4 separate regions of the Homo sapiens genome follow, and regions 1, 3 and 4 are each linked to region 2. Evidence: promoter capture Hi-C in 16 types of primary human blood cells and fetal thymus (Javierre and others, 2016). All regions are on one chromosome and are shown on one strand. The core of a region is centred on a gene start or on the middle of the fragment in contact, and the rest is flanking DNA. Distances in the headings are between cores, read along the strand shown. Region 1 overlaps PITX1-AS1 (PITX1 antisense RNA 1). Region 2 holds the start of CATSPER3 (cation channel sperm associated 3). Region 3 overlaps PITX1-AS1 (PITX1 antisense RNA 1). Region 4 overlaps PITX1-AS1 (PITX1 antisense RNA 1).

Region 1 (2,700 bases), core at 135-2,634, 250 kb after region 2:
CGCCTGCCATTGAGGAGTGAGCACCTCTCTGGATGCTGTTGGGGGAGGCAAGAGGTGTTGCCCATCTCAAGTGATGGGCAAGTTTGGGACACATGAGAGGGGCCCAACTCAGGGCCAATGTGGGCCCGTTCCTATGTGTGTTTCAGGGGCATCACCTTTCCTCCTGCCCACCTCAAAGGTGGCTTTTGACTTTGTCCTCTAACTGAGGTAGCTGGGTTTGTGTCTTTTGACCTCCTGCCTCCTCTTCTAGGGTAAACAAGGCAGACCCCAACAAGAATCTTGCCAGTCCCTGCAGGAGCAGATTAGTGGCCATATCCCTTTCTGGGGTCGGGAACCTGAACCTCTTTCCTGGAACAGGTATTTGGGGCTGGGTGCCCTAGGAAGTGCTGTCTTTTTGAAGTAAGCTGGTTTCTCATATTTCGAGGTGCTCTTCCTCCCAGAGTACCCTAGGCAGAGGGTTATTTGGGTGTTGGGGGGGATGAGTTATGGGGCAAACGCGCTGCTTTGTGAGCATTAGGAAGTGCAGGTGAATGGGCTGGAGCTCTCCTGTCCTCCTTCCTGTGTTGGATAGCCTCTGCTGCGAGGGGTGGCTGGGGGTTGAGTGGGGAAGGATGGGGCCTGAGGAGCTGGGAGGGCAGGGCGATGTGCTGGGCTTGGGCTTCTGAGGGCAGCAGGCCCACCTGAAGCCCCCAGCTGTGTACAGTGGGGCTGGGCTTGGAGGCAGGGGCCTGCCTCCCAGTTCAGGACTCAATGGCTCGAGTTCCCACGAGAGAGGCAAAGGTCTTCTTTTGGTCTCTGTCCCTCTCTCATCCCATTCTCTATTTTATTTACATTTTGCTTAGGACATTTCATGAAGACATTATACAGCCAAATTCCCAATGTGACCTCCAAACATCAAACATATGTATTCCCCAGCCCCTCCCCAGGTGTTTCCCTGGCGGCCACAGGCCCCTGTTTGTGAATTCTGGGCATCTCCAATAGGCACTTTCCTCTGACCTGGTTACGCTGTTTAACAAATTCATTTGGGGGTGAGCTCAGAGATGAGGATTGGAGAGGAGAAAGAATTGTCTTTTCTTCTTAACTGTCCCCAGGACGCCCTGAGCAAGCTTGGAGGATTCTCACTAATCTAATCCCTGTCAGAAAAGGAACGATAAAACAATTCAGGCTTTAGAAGCCAAATCCCCTTCCTGCACTCATACTATTTCTATATCTCTGCCTTACCGTTTTTCTCCTTTGCAATGAAACTGAGCTTCGGTTTCTCAGTGAGGGTTTCAGTGGATAAGGATTTCATATTTCACTCTTCCATTTTTCGTATTTAAATTTGCTTTACTCTCCAGTTTGACTTTCCACTGACCCTTGAAGAATTGGCGTATTTCAAGGAGGGGGAAAAGATCTCATTATAGGAAATGAGAAAAATGGAGCAGAGTTTTAAAACTTTTAATGACTAAAACACAGTGTTCCCAGTCGGTATTGTATTGGGGTTGAAGTCACTGTTTGGTTACAAGTCTTTTAGGTCTAAACGGGGTTGATGACATCTGTTTAATTTTAGATGTCTGGAATACATTCGGAAAATAATGAAATCCAAATGTATGACCAAATTAGAGAACAATTTTATCTGCGACAAAGAAGTTTTTAAAATAAGAACAACTATTTCGACCAAACAAAGCTTTAAAAGACCCATCAAATCTTTGGTCATCTCGCCTTGTCTTTTCCCAGTGGGTCTCCATGGTTGAGAGAACATTGATTTTCTCGGTGTGTGCCTCAGACATTATTATGTAATTTTATACCCATTTTCCCGTCGTTTCTCTGGGCATGCGTTCTGCTCTGTGCCATCAGCCCTGGAGAGACCACGTTCAGGGAACTGAGGACGCTTTATGGGAAAGCTCCTTTGATAAAGCAAAGGTCTCCTGTCACAACACTCGAGGGCCACCTATCACCTGTTTCATAGTGACCCAAGCAACTGTGGGAAAAGTCCTGGGAAGATAAAAAAAAAAAAAAGTGCCAAGGCCTTGCCAATGGGGCATGGCGCTACCAATGGACATCAGGAGAAAGCAGTATTCCCAACTCTTATCGTGCCTGTGTGACCTGGCAGTGGGCCAGTGTGACCCTGTGTGACCCTCTATGCCTGTGTGACCCTCTATGGGCCTCGCTTGCCCAATCTGTATGAAGAGCTCAGGCACTCAGGGATCCTGAGAGGCTGGCAGGGGTTGGCCTCTCTCCAGGAAGATTCTGATGTGGTGCTGAGGCACTGCTACTGGGATGTGCATTAAGCAGTTCCTCCCATACTCCCTGGAAGCCCAGCATCTGGGATGATGTGGAGACTCTGGTCACATGGGTCTCCTTTATTGTCCCTACCCCAGGAAGTGCAACAAGGGTAGTGTCAGCAGACAGACATTCTCAGAGTCCACTCCACTCCAGACCAGGTCCAGTGTTCAGCCATATCCTTCATCCTTGGTGGGACTTTCATGTACAGATAGAAAGTGAATTATGGGCAAGGCCTTGCCTGATGCCTTAAAACACTTGGCTACTAGGCAAGGTAATTCCATCCCTCCAGGGTATTTGAGCCTTCCAAATGTTTGCAGACTCTTATCCTGCCCTGTCCCATCCCTCCAGTATTGGCTGAAGCCTTTCCCCGAGAACCAGCCCCTTCTGTGTTGAGGTGCCCCACCCCCATTCAGTGCTGTTTGGTCAGGCTCAGTC
Region 2 (2,700 bases), core at 9-2,508:
CATCCTATGCCTGCAGTTAGCCAACTCAGGGTTTATATTGCCTCCTTTCTTTTTTTCTTTTTTTTTTTTTTTTTAAGAGATGGGGTCTCATTCTATCATGCAGACTGGAGTGCAGTGGTGTGATCACAGCTCATTGTAACCTCCAACGCCTGGACTAAAGTGATCCTCCTACCTTGGCCTCTCTGGTAGCTGGGACTACAGGTGCATGCCACCACACCCACCTAATTTTTTTTATTTTTATTTTTTGTAGAGACAGTCTCACTATCTTGCTCAGGCTAGTCCTGAACTCCTGGGCTCAAGTTATCTTGCTGCCTCAGCCTCCCATGGGTAATTTTTATTTCCTTTTTTTTTTTTTTTGGAGATGGAGTTTCGCTCTTGTCGCCCAGGCTGGAGTGCAATGGCACGATCTTGGCTCACTGCAGTCTCCACCTCCTGGGTTCAAGTGATTCTCCATCCTCAGCCTCCTGAGTAGCTGAGATTACAGGCAACTGCCACCATGCGCGGCTAATTTATGTATTTTTTTTTAGTAAGAGATGGGGTTTCACCATGTTGGCCAGACTAGTCTTAAACTCCTGACCTCAAGCGACCTGCCTGCCTTGGCCTCCCAAAGTGCTGGGATTACAGGCATGAGCCGCTATGCCTCGTCGCTGATTTTTATTTCTTATTTTTTTTTTAGAGATGGGGGTCTCACTATGTTGCTCAGGCTGATCTCAAACTCCTGGCCTCAAGTGATCCTCCCACCTTAGCCTCCCAAGTTGCTGGGATTATAAGTGTGAGCCACTATCCCTACCTCACTATTACCTTCTTTGCTTCTCTTGTTTTCTTTTGTTCTAAGTCAAACCCATCACAATCTTTTCTTGTCCTTCCAGGTGTTTTCCAGTGCTGTGCCCTGGATGTGCTCTCTTTCTCTTAGAGCCCAGAGAACTTGCTTTTCCCCCTTATATATGACCCTTAACTTTTTCTAACACATTATTAAGGGCCTGTGTCTATCAGCTGGGGGCACTTCTTGAAGGGAGGGCCTTTGTGTGGTCTGTTTCTAGTGACTTCCAGCTTTAACCCAGAGCCTCATGATTGCTGGGTGCCCATAGCCTTTTTGCTGAATGGAGGCACTCAGTCTCCTTGGGAAGAGAGAATCCATGATAGACCCACTTGGGAGCTCCCCACTTCAGGGGCCTACACACTGGTAATGCAACAGAATGCCCAAGAGTGACCTCATAAAGCAAGGATTCCCTTCGTGGCCCCTTCTCTGCTGCCTCTCAGAATCCAGACGCTAAGGAAAATCCCTAAGCAGAGATTTTCTGTTGGATGCTAAAAGCAAGGAATAAAAGTTGAAAATTTGGAAAATGTCTCAACACCGTCACCAGCGCCACTCGAGAGTCATTTCTAGTTCACCAGTTGACACTACATCGGTGGGATTTTGCCCAACATTCAAGAAATTTAAGTAAATATTATCTATCTCCATTGCCTGTTAAGAAATGTGCTAGTAGAAGTGTGAGGGCAGGGTGTCAGTGTTCTCTCAGCCTCTTCCCTCAGATACTCGTCTGCTTACCAAAATAAGTTGCATGTCCTTGACAATCTGGTTTCTATGATTGGTGAGGCTGGCATGCTATTACCTTTATGTGCCCTGTAGACTTGAATGACCAGTTTGACCAGTTTGACTGTTAGATAATCTGAAGGCTTTTCTCTTTTTTTATAATAGACCCCATCTCAAATCAGATAATGAAAATTACATATCTTGATATATTAGAAAAGTATATACATTCTGGCTGGGCACGGTGGCTCACACCTGTAATCCCTGCACTTTGAGAGGCTGGGGCGGATCACTTGAGGTCAGGAGTTTGAGACCAGCCTGGCCAACGTGGCGAAACCCCATCTCTACTAAAAATACACAGATTAGCCCGGAGTGATGGTGTGCACCTGTTGTCCCAGCTACTCAGGATGCTGAGGCAGGAGAATCCCTTTAACCTGGGGGGCGAAGGTTGCAGTGAGCCAAGATTGCACCACTGCACTCCAGCCTGGGTGACAGAACGAGACTCTGTCTCAGAAAAAAAAAAAAAGAAAAGGAAAAAGAAAAATATATATTCTATATTTTTTTAACTTATGAGAATGTGTTCATTTCATTTGTAACATATAATGGGAAACAGTAATACGTACTCTGAGAAAAATTGCAAAGCACAGATAAATGGAAATAAACAGGAAAAAGAATCACCTATAACCTCACCATCCATAGACAGACACTGTTAAAATTTTGGCATATTTCCTGCTGATTTTTTCTACTGCTGATTTTTGCACAGGTGAGATAATTTTGAACAGAGAATTTTGTATCTTTGGTTTTTGTGTTTTGCTGCACACAAAAACAAAAGATATAAAAATGGATCATAAACATTTTTCTAAATCCTGAAAAATGCATAGACATATTTTAGTGCCTGTATTTCACAAGATGGACATACCATAATTTACTTACACAGTCCTTTTTGTTAGATGTTTAAGTTGTTTTCAAGCTTCTCAGTGCTGGAAAAAATACTGAGATAGACATGTTTAGTTGAAGTTATTTCATTTCAGGTTATATTATCTTGGGTCAGAGAATGAATGGTTCTCAGGCTTTTCAAAAGAGCTGGTCAGTTTTTATGCCTCTGGCAGTTTTTGAGAGTGCTCAATCATACTACACTGTTGCCAGCATTAGATCTTATCACATTTAAG
Region 3 (2,700 bases), core at 22-2,521, 210 kb after region 2:
CTGCCCCCTTTCCAGGACTTGATTATGTGGGTGGACCCTGTCTCTCAACTCAGCCCTTCTGCAGCTCCATCCTCCCCTGTCCTGCCTACCAGGCTCTTGAGTGCATCACGGAGGCAGGGATGGGCTGGCATCGAGTTCTCGTTAGAGTGGGTGCGGGGAGGGAAGGATACTTGCACATGGGTGGATGAGTTCTGTTTTAGATGCGCAAGGCCCCAGCCCATCACGAATGCTTGCTGGGAATTCAGTAAGCATTTATGAGCTACCTACTATATGTCAGGCACCGTGCTAGGTTTCAATTCCCCAGAAACTCTGTGAGGCAGGTGGTGGTAGCTTCATTTTACAAATAAGAAAATTAAAGCTCAGAGCGCACACGTTGACTGAGGTTGCACAACTGGTTCGAACATTTGTCACCCCCCATGCATGGTTACTGTCAGCTAGGTGCCGGGCTGTGTCGGGGAGCTCTCTGGGGAGAGAGAGCCCTTTGGAGTCCTGGGTCTGCCCCGGGTCTGGCAGGAAGACCATTTGGATGATGAGAGAACAGACTGGAGGCAGGTGACAGGCAGATCCTAAATGTACAGGATTAAATATTTACATTAGGTAAAGATGAGGGTTAAGTGCCTCAGAGGCAGGCAAAGGGAGAGTGGAGGGAACTGCTGCTGGGGCTTACCTGAAGAGCTTATAGAGAAGGCTGCAGGAGAGGGGACATCTCTGGAGGCTCAGAGGAGCCAGGAGGGGGCTGGGGTGGATGCCGGAGTCAGGCTGGTCTCCTGTGAGGTGTGTGCAAGTGTGTGGTGGCCCGGGAATGTGGGAGCCACATACTTTTGTATAATTAGCTCGGCTCCTCTGCAGTGGTGGCAATTAGCCGTAGGCGGGAGACAGGACTTCCTGTGGCCAAGGCCACTTCTGCACCTGGGGCCGCTTACCTGGGCTCCTGCTGTCCAGGCTTGGGCCCTGCGTGTTTCCGGCAGGGGCAGCCAAGAAGCAGGTGGGGCTGTTGGGACTGCAGGGTCACAGCTTCTACCTCGCAGCAGGAGGAGGGAATTGTCCCAGCCCATCCTGCCGCTCAGCCCTGTTTATATCTTCTCTGGGGCCCTGCTTTTGAGAAGGGCTTTTGCTCCCTCTCCTCACCTGTTGGGGGCTGTTTCTGAGCCTTTCTCACTCTTCCTGGCTGTGGGTAGGACTGGCAGCAACCTAGAGGGGATTAGTTCCCCTGGTGGTCAGTAGACGCCTTATACACCTCTTCCCATGGACAGCTCAATGGCAGGAATATTCTGAGCATTTGGCTTTTGAGGAGCCCCACCTATCCTGCCATAATGAAAAATGTCAAAAATGAGATAATTAATGCTGCCACTTTGTTTCTCTTTAGTGTCCAGGGAATATTACTTTATTCATCTAATGTTATCAGCAATAATAACAATCACTGTCTTTGTGTTTTCTTTTTTTTAACTGGCCCTGCCTGTTTCTCTTCTAAATTGTGAGATAGTAGATGTGAAAACTTGGAAGCGGGAGTGTAATTATTCCCACTTTGTAGGCAGGAAAAACCACAGGTAGGAGAAGTGAGTTGCTTGCTTAGCGTCACCTGGGGAAGGTGACTGTGGCCTAGGGCCACTGATGTGCCAAGTGCTACCATGCTCAGGCTTTTGCAGCTTAGCTGGGGTGAAGCTGAGGCTGGGAACTGGGCTCTCCCTCCACACCAAGGTGGGTGAGAGCAAGTTGCTGGTAGCTAAGTCACAAGGAGGGATGTCAGTATGGCACCTGCTGCGGTCAGCAGAGGGGCAGCTCAGCCCTGCGGTTGGCTGGGACTCAGTGGTACTAGGCTTGTGGCACATCCTGGGGATGAGCTGGCTGCCTGCTCTCTTAGCCACTGTCAAGCAGGCTGAGTCCCTGGTTCCTTCATCCTCCACTGTGCACTCCAGAGCTGGAAAATGTTCTAAAAATCCTTGAAGCAATGGCTTTTCCCAGCCAGGCACAGCCTGCCACATGAGAAACCCAAAACCCGGGACAGGTGAGTGTGCTGAACACTTGCTGTGAACAGCAGGCATGAGGCCTAAAACCCCCCAGGTTTCACAGGTACGGGAGGATTCGATGAGATCTGTGTGATCAATATGAAGCGTTTGGTATGTGCCTGGCTCACAGTGAGTGTTCACTTGGTGTTAGCAGCCATTATTATTATGTTAGACATGATTATTAACCCATTTATGCCTGAGGTTGCAATTTTTTGAATTTTTGCAATCAGAACTTGGTGGTGACCTTGAGCAGTAGGATATAAATAACTCCCACATGCTCAGTGTTCCAATAATGGAACACTAGGCATAAATGGACTAAAGAAAAAGACAGTGTTCTGTGAGGTAACAGGGGCCTGGCCCAGGAAGAGAGTGCTCCACGAATAGTAGTTGTCATTAGCTATTGGCACTTTGTCTCCTGCATCCCCATCTTCCCAAGGACCGAAACTCCGGTCGATTCTCATTACTTGCACTAGTTATGTTCTATAAAGTCCCCACCAACACCGAATTAGCAAATACTAAACCACTGCTCCTAGGGACAATACAAAGTTAGGTTCCTGTGAGCTTCTGGTCACATTTTTGTCAACTGATCAATACATAACCTTGTTTTATGTGTGTTACTGTTTAAAGCACCTTATTTAATATATGTTGATGATTCAGAAACATCGACTTCATGGCCAGTAGCGTTGTAACTCAT
Region 4 (2,700 bases), core at 63-2,562, 240 kb after region 2:
ACAGTGGAGTTTTCTGGAGGCTATGTAATGTGTGCTATCATAATAGATTGACTACAGAAACATGAAAATCCAGCCGTTTTCTATTAAGCTCAACAATAAAGAAATATTTAAAAATGTAAAATGTTGTCATTCTTCTCACTGAAAGTTTTTGTTTATGGTTATTTTTCAAAAATATGCATTTATATTCTTACTTTAAAATTAATATTTAACATTTTCTCAGCTTTAGTTTCTAATCTGTAAATATCAATAGATATAACCCACATAAACAAAAGCTCTTTGAGGTCCTTGATTTTTAAGAGTGTAAAGGAATTTTGAGAATAAATGTTTTGAGAACTTGTGAGTTTTATCATTTATTCTTTAGGATTTCTTGATAAATTACTGTGTCCTCTGCAATAGAGTTAGTTTTTTGTCTTCTTTTCTAATCCTCAAGCCTCCTTTTGTTTTCTCTTGTCTATGTTAGCTAATACTTCCAGCACAATGTTAATAGCGGAAAAGTGCCTTGTTCTTTCCTTTTGTGGGAATACCTCTAGTGTTTCCATATTAAGTAGGATGCTGAGGTGCTGATTGTATTGTTTTATTTACTGAGTTTCTTTCTCTATTTGATGTATTTTCATTGTTGTCTAAAAATTCTTTTGGCATTTAGAAAGGCTTATGTTTTTGATCTAGTGGTTGCCATCATATTTATACCTTTTATAGTGCCCTTAATTCTCCCCTTTCTTAAACTTTTACTATCTAGTCTGTCAGTTTTACATGATATCCTTTGACTCTCACCTGTTACCTAAACGACAATCAATGGTCATATTTTGCTTTCTCCTTTGGTACTATTTTAAGATTACATTCTTTCTACTTTGTCAGAACATGTCATATTTACAGAATCTTCTGATACCATGACCCCACCCTAGTTTTAATCTTAGCTCTGTAATTAAATGTATTAAATGATTATCGGTTCTTTTGCAGAAGCTCCCCCAGTTATCACTTGGTTGGATGAAGGATGGATATAAAATCCCTACTCACTATAAAATCCCTACTCACTGCCAGGAAGTACCTTCCTGGCAGCCAGTACTGTGAACTAAGTTTCAGACTCATGTTCATTATTTTGCATTTAGTGCTATACTTTTTACCTCTCTGGGGTGATTCAGAGTTTCTTGAAAATGCTGTTCCACTCTTACCCAATTCCGTGTGTTGTTCTTAGAAAGCCTGAGGTCAGCCTACATTTTTTATCAGAATAAAATTTGACCTTTTTGCCTGAAAGTCATGAAGATTTTTTATTTGTCATAAAAATCTAGTAGTTTTACTAGGATATGTTTCAGAGTTGTTCATTCTAGATCATTTCTCCAAGCCACACAGTGGACCTTTTCATTATGTTGATTTAGGATTTATCTTATTTCTGGAAAGTTTTCTTGGGTTATATTTCAAAATATTTCTATTTTATTGTTTTATTTTTCTTCTTCATGGACTCCAATTATACATAGGTTAGCTCATCTTTGCCTGCCTTCCATTTCAACCACTTTCGCTGATTTTTTTTAACCTCGTTCTCAATTCATTTTCATTTGGTTTTTGTTTTACTACCTTTGTAAATGCTCCCTATTAAATTTTCATTTGAACTTATTCTCTCTTGGGCACATTGTAATTTGTTCTTCATTTCTGAAATAGTTTTGGTCTTTTTCTTAAATTTATTTCCTGAAATTGATCAACTCCCATTGCATTTCTTCCTGATTTTAAAAGGTTCTCTTCTAAGTTTTAAATCTCTGATTCTAGTTTTTTTAAACAATATTCAAATACTTATTTTATAATATTTAACTCAGTTTGGAATGTTACATGACAGTTTACTTCTGCTTCATGGTTGATTTTCTTTGTGGGGGAGAATTTTAATTAGTTGAAATGTTTTGGTGCATATTTTATCTTTAAAAAAAAAAATCAGCTCCACTGATTAGCCGAGGAATACTAATAACAATGTGGAGTTAGTACGAGTTTTCCCTTTATTCCTAGGCATTTTGTGGTGAGTGCCTATTTCAAGAGTGCCCTCTTCTGTCAATATGATGAAGTGCAGTTTATTGAATGAATAGAGGGAGTAGGAGGGCTTGTCTTGTTTTCTGTCTTTTTTTTCCCCTGCAGTATGCTTAATTTCTTCTTTTTCTTTACTGCCATATCTCTAAGAGACACCTATTTTCTATTTATTTTCTTCTCTTCCCAAAAGCAGTGCTTCTCTGACATTGTCACTTCTGACCCTACTCACTTTCAAGTACCTTCCTGACGGCCATTACTGTAAACTACGAAGTTCCAGACTTATGTTCATTATTTTGCATTTAGTGCTGTACTGTACCTCTCTGGGGTGATTCTGTTTGTCTTGTTTGTTCTCTCTCCTCCTTTTGTTTCCATGGAATTTCTTAAGACTCCCGTTTCCTGCCTTCTACACCTACAGATTTCCAGTAATGGTAGGTGCTTTGTTAGAATTTGGTACTTCTCTACTGAAATGTAATTTGGAATTCATAGTATTATGTGACTCCTAGTAATGACAAAGACATGAGTCATACATAGATTTTATTTTTGCTTGTTGTTTTTTCCCCTTTGTTGATGTTAATTTTTTTTTTTAAGCTGTTTGAAGTGGTTTGGATTTAGGAAGCCACCATTACCTTTCAGACTTATTGCTCTTTAAACAGTGAAAACATTGGTTTTCAAAGGAATCTTTGTCATTTCAAC

Evidence for each region. Contacts are between HindIII fragments. The CHiCAGO score rates a contact against its expected background, and 5 or more counts as called.
Region 1: a fragment that was not itself captured here is called in contact with the fragment with the promoter of CATSPER3 in region 2 in 1 of 17 cell types (naive B cells); the score reaches 6.6 in naive B cells.
Region 3: a contact is called between a fragment that was not itself captured here and the fragment with the promoter of CATSPER3 in region 2, in 4 of 17 cell types (M2 macrophages, M1 macrophages, M0 macrophages and 1 more). The highest score is 8.3, in M2 macrophages.
Region 4: a contact is called between a fragment that was not itself captured here and the fragment with the promoter of CATSPER3 in region 2, in 4 of 17 cell types (M2 macrophages, M1 macrophages, naive B cells and 1 more). The highest score is 8.2, in M2 macrophages.

Annotation. Positions count from the first base shown.
Region 1 is chr5:135,217,897-135,220,596 of GRCh38, forward strand. The region is part of intron 3 of PITX1-AS1 (PITX1 antisense RNA 1); the gene reads left to right. Among named protein-coding and RNA genes, the nearest start is that of LINC02900, 29 kb to the right of the region's middle. The HindIII fragment of the contact is 560 bases long and covers 1,105-1,664 here.
Region 2 is chr5:134,966,649-134,969,348 of GRCh38, forward strand. It overlaps CATSPER3 (cation channel sperm associated 3), which reads left to right and starts at 1,259. Exons shown (of 8, transcript NM_178019.3): 1 at 1,259-1,441. The coding sequence starts at 1,344. The HindIII fragment of the contact is 4,293 bases long and covers 1-2,499 here.
Region 3 is chr5:135,178,596-135,181,295 of GRCh38, forward strand. The region is part of intron 3 of PITX1-AS1 (PITX1 antisense RNA 1); the gene reads left to right. Among named protein-coding and RNA genes, the nearest start is that of LINC02900, 68 kb to the right of the region's middle. The HindIII fragment of the contact is 7,736 bases long and covers 1-2,700 here.
Region 4 is chr5:135,201,719-135,204,418 of GRCh38, forward strand. All of the region lies in intron 3 of PITX1-AS1 (PITX1 antisense RNA 1), which reads left to right. Among named protein-coding and RNA genes, the nearest start is that of LINC02900, 45 kb to the right of the region's middle. The HindIII fragment of the contact is 4,619 bases long and covers 1-2,700 here.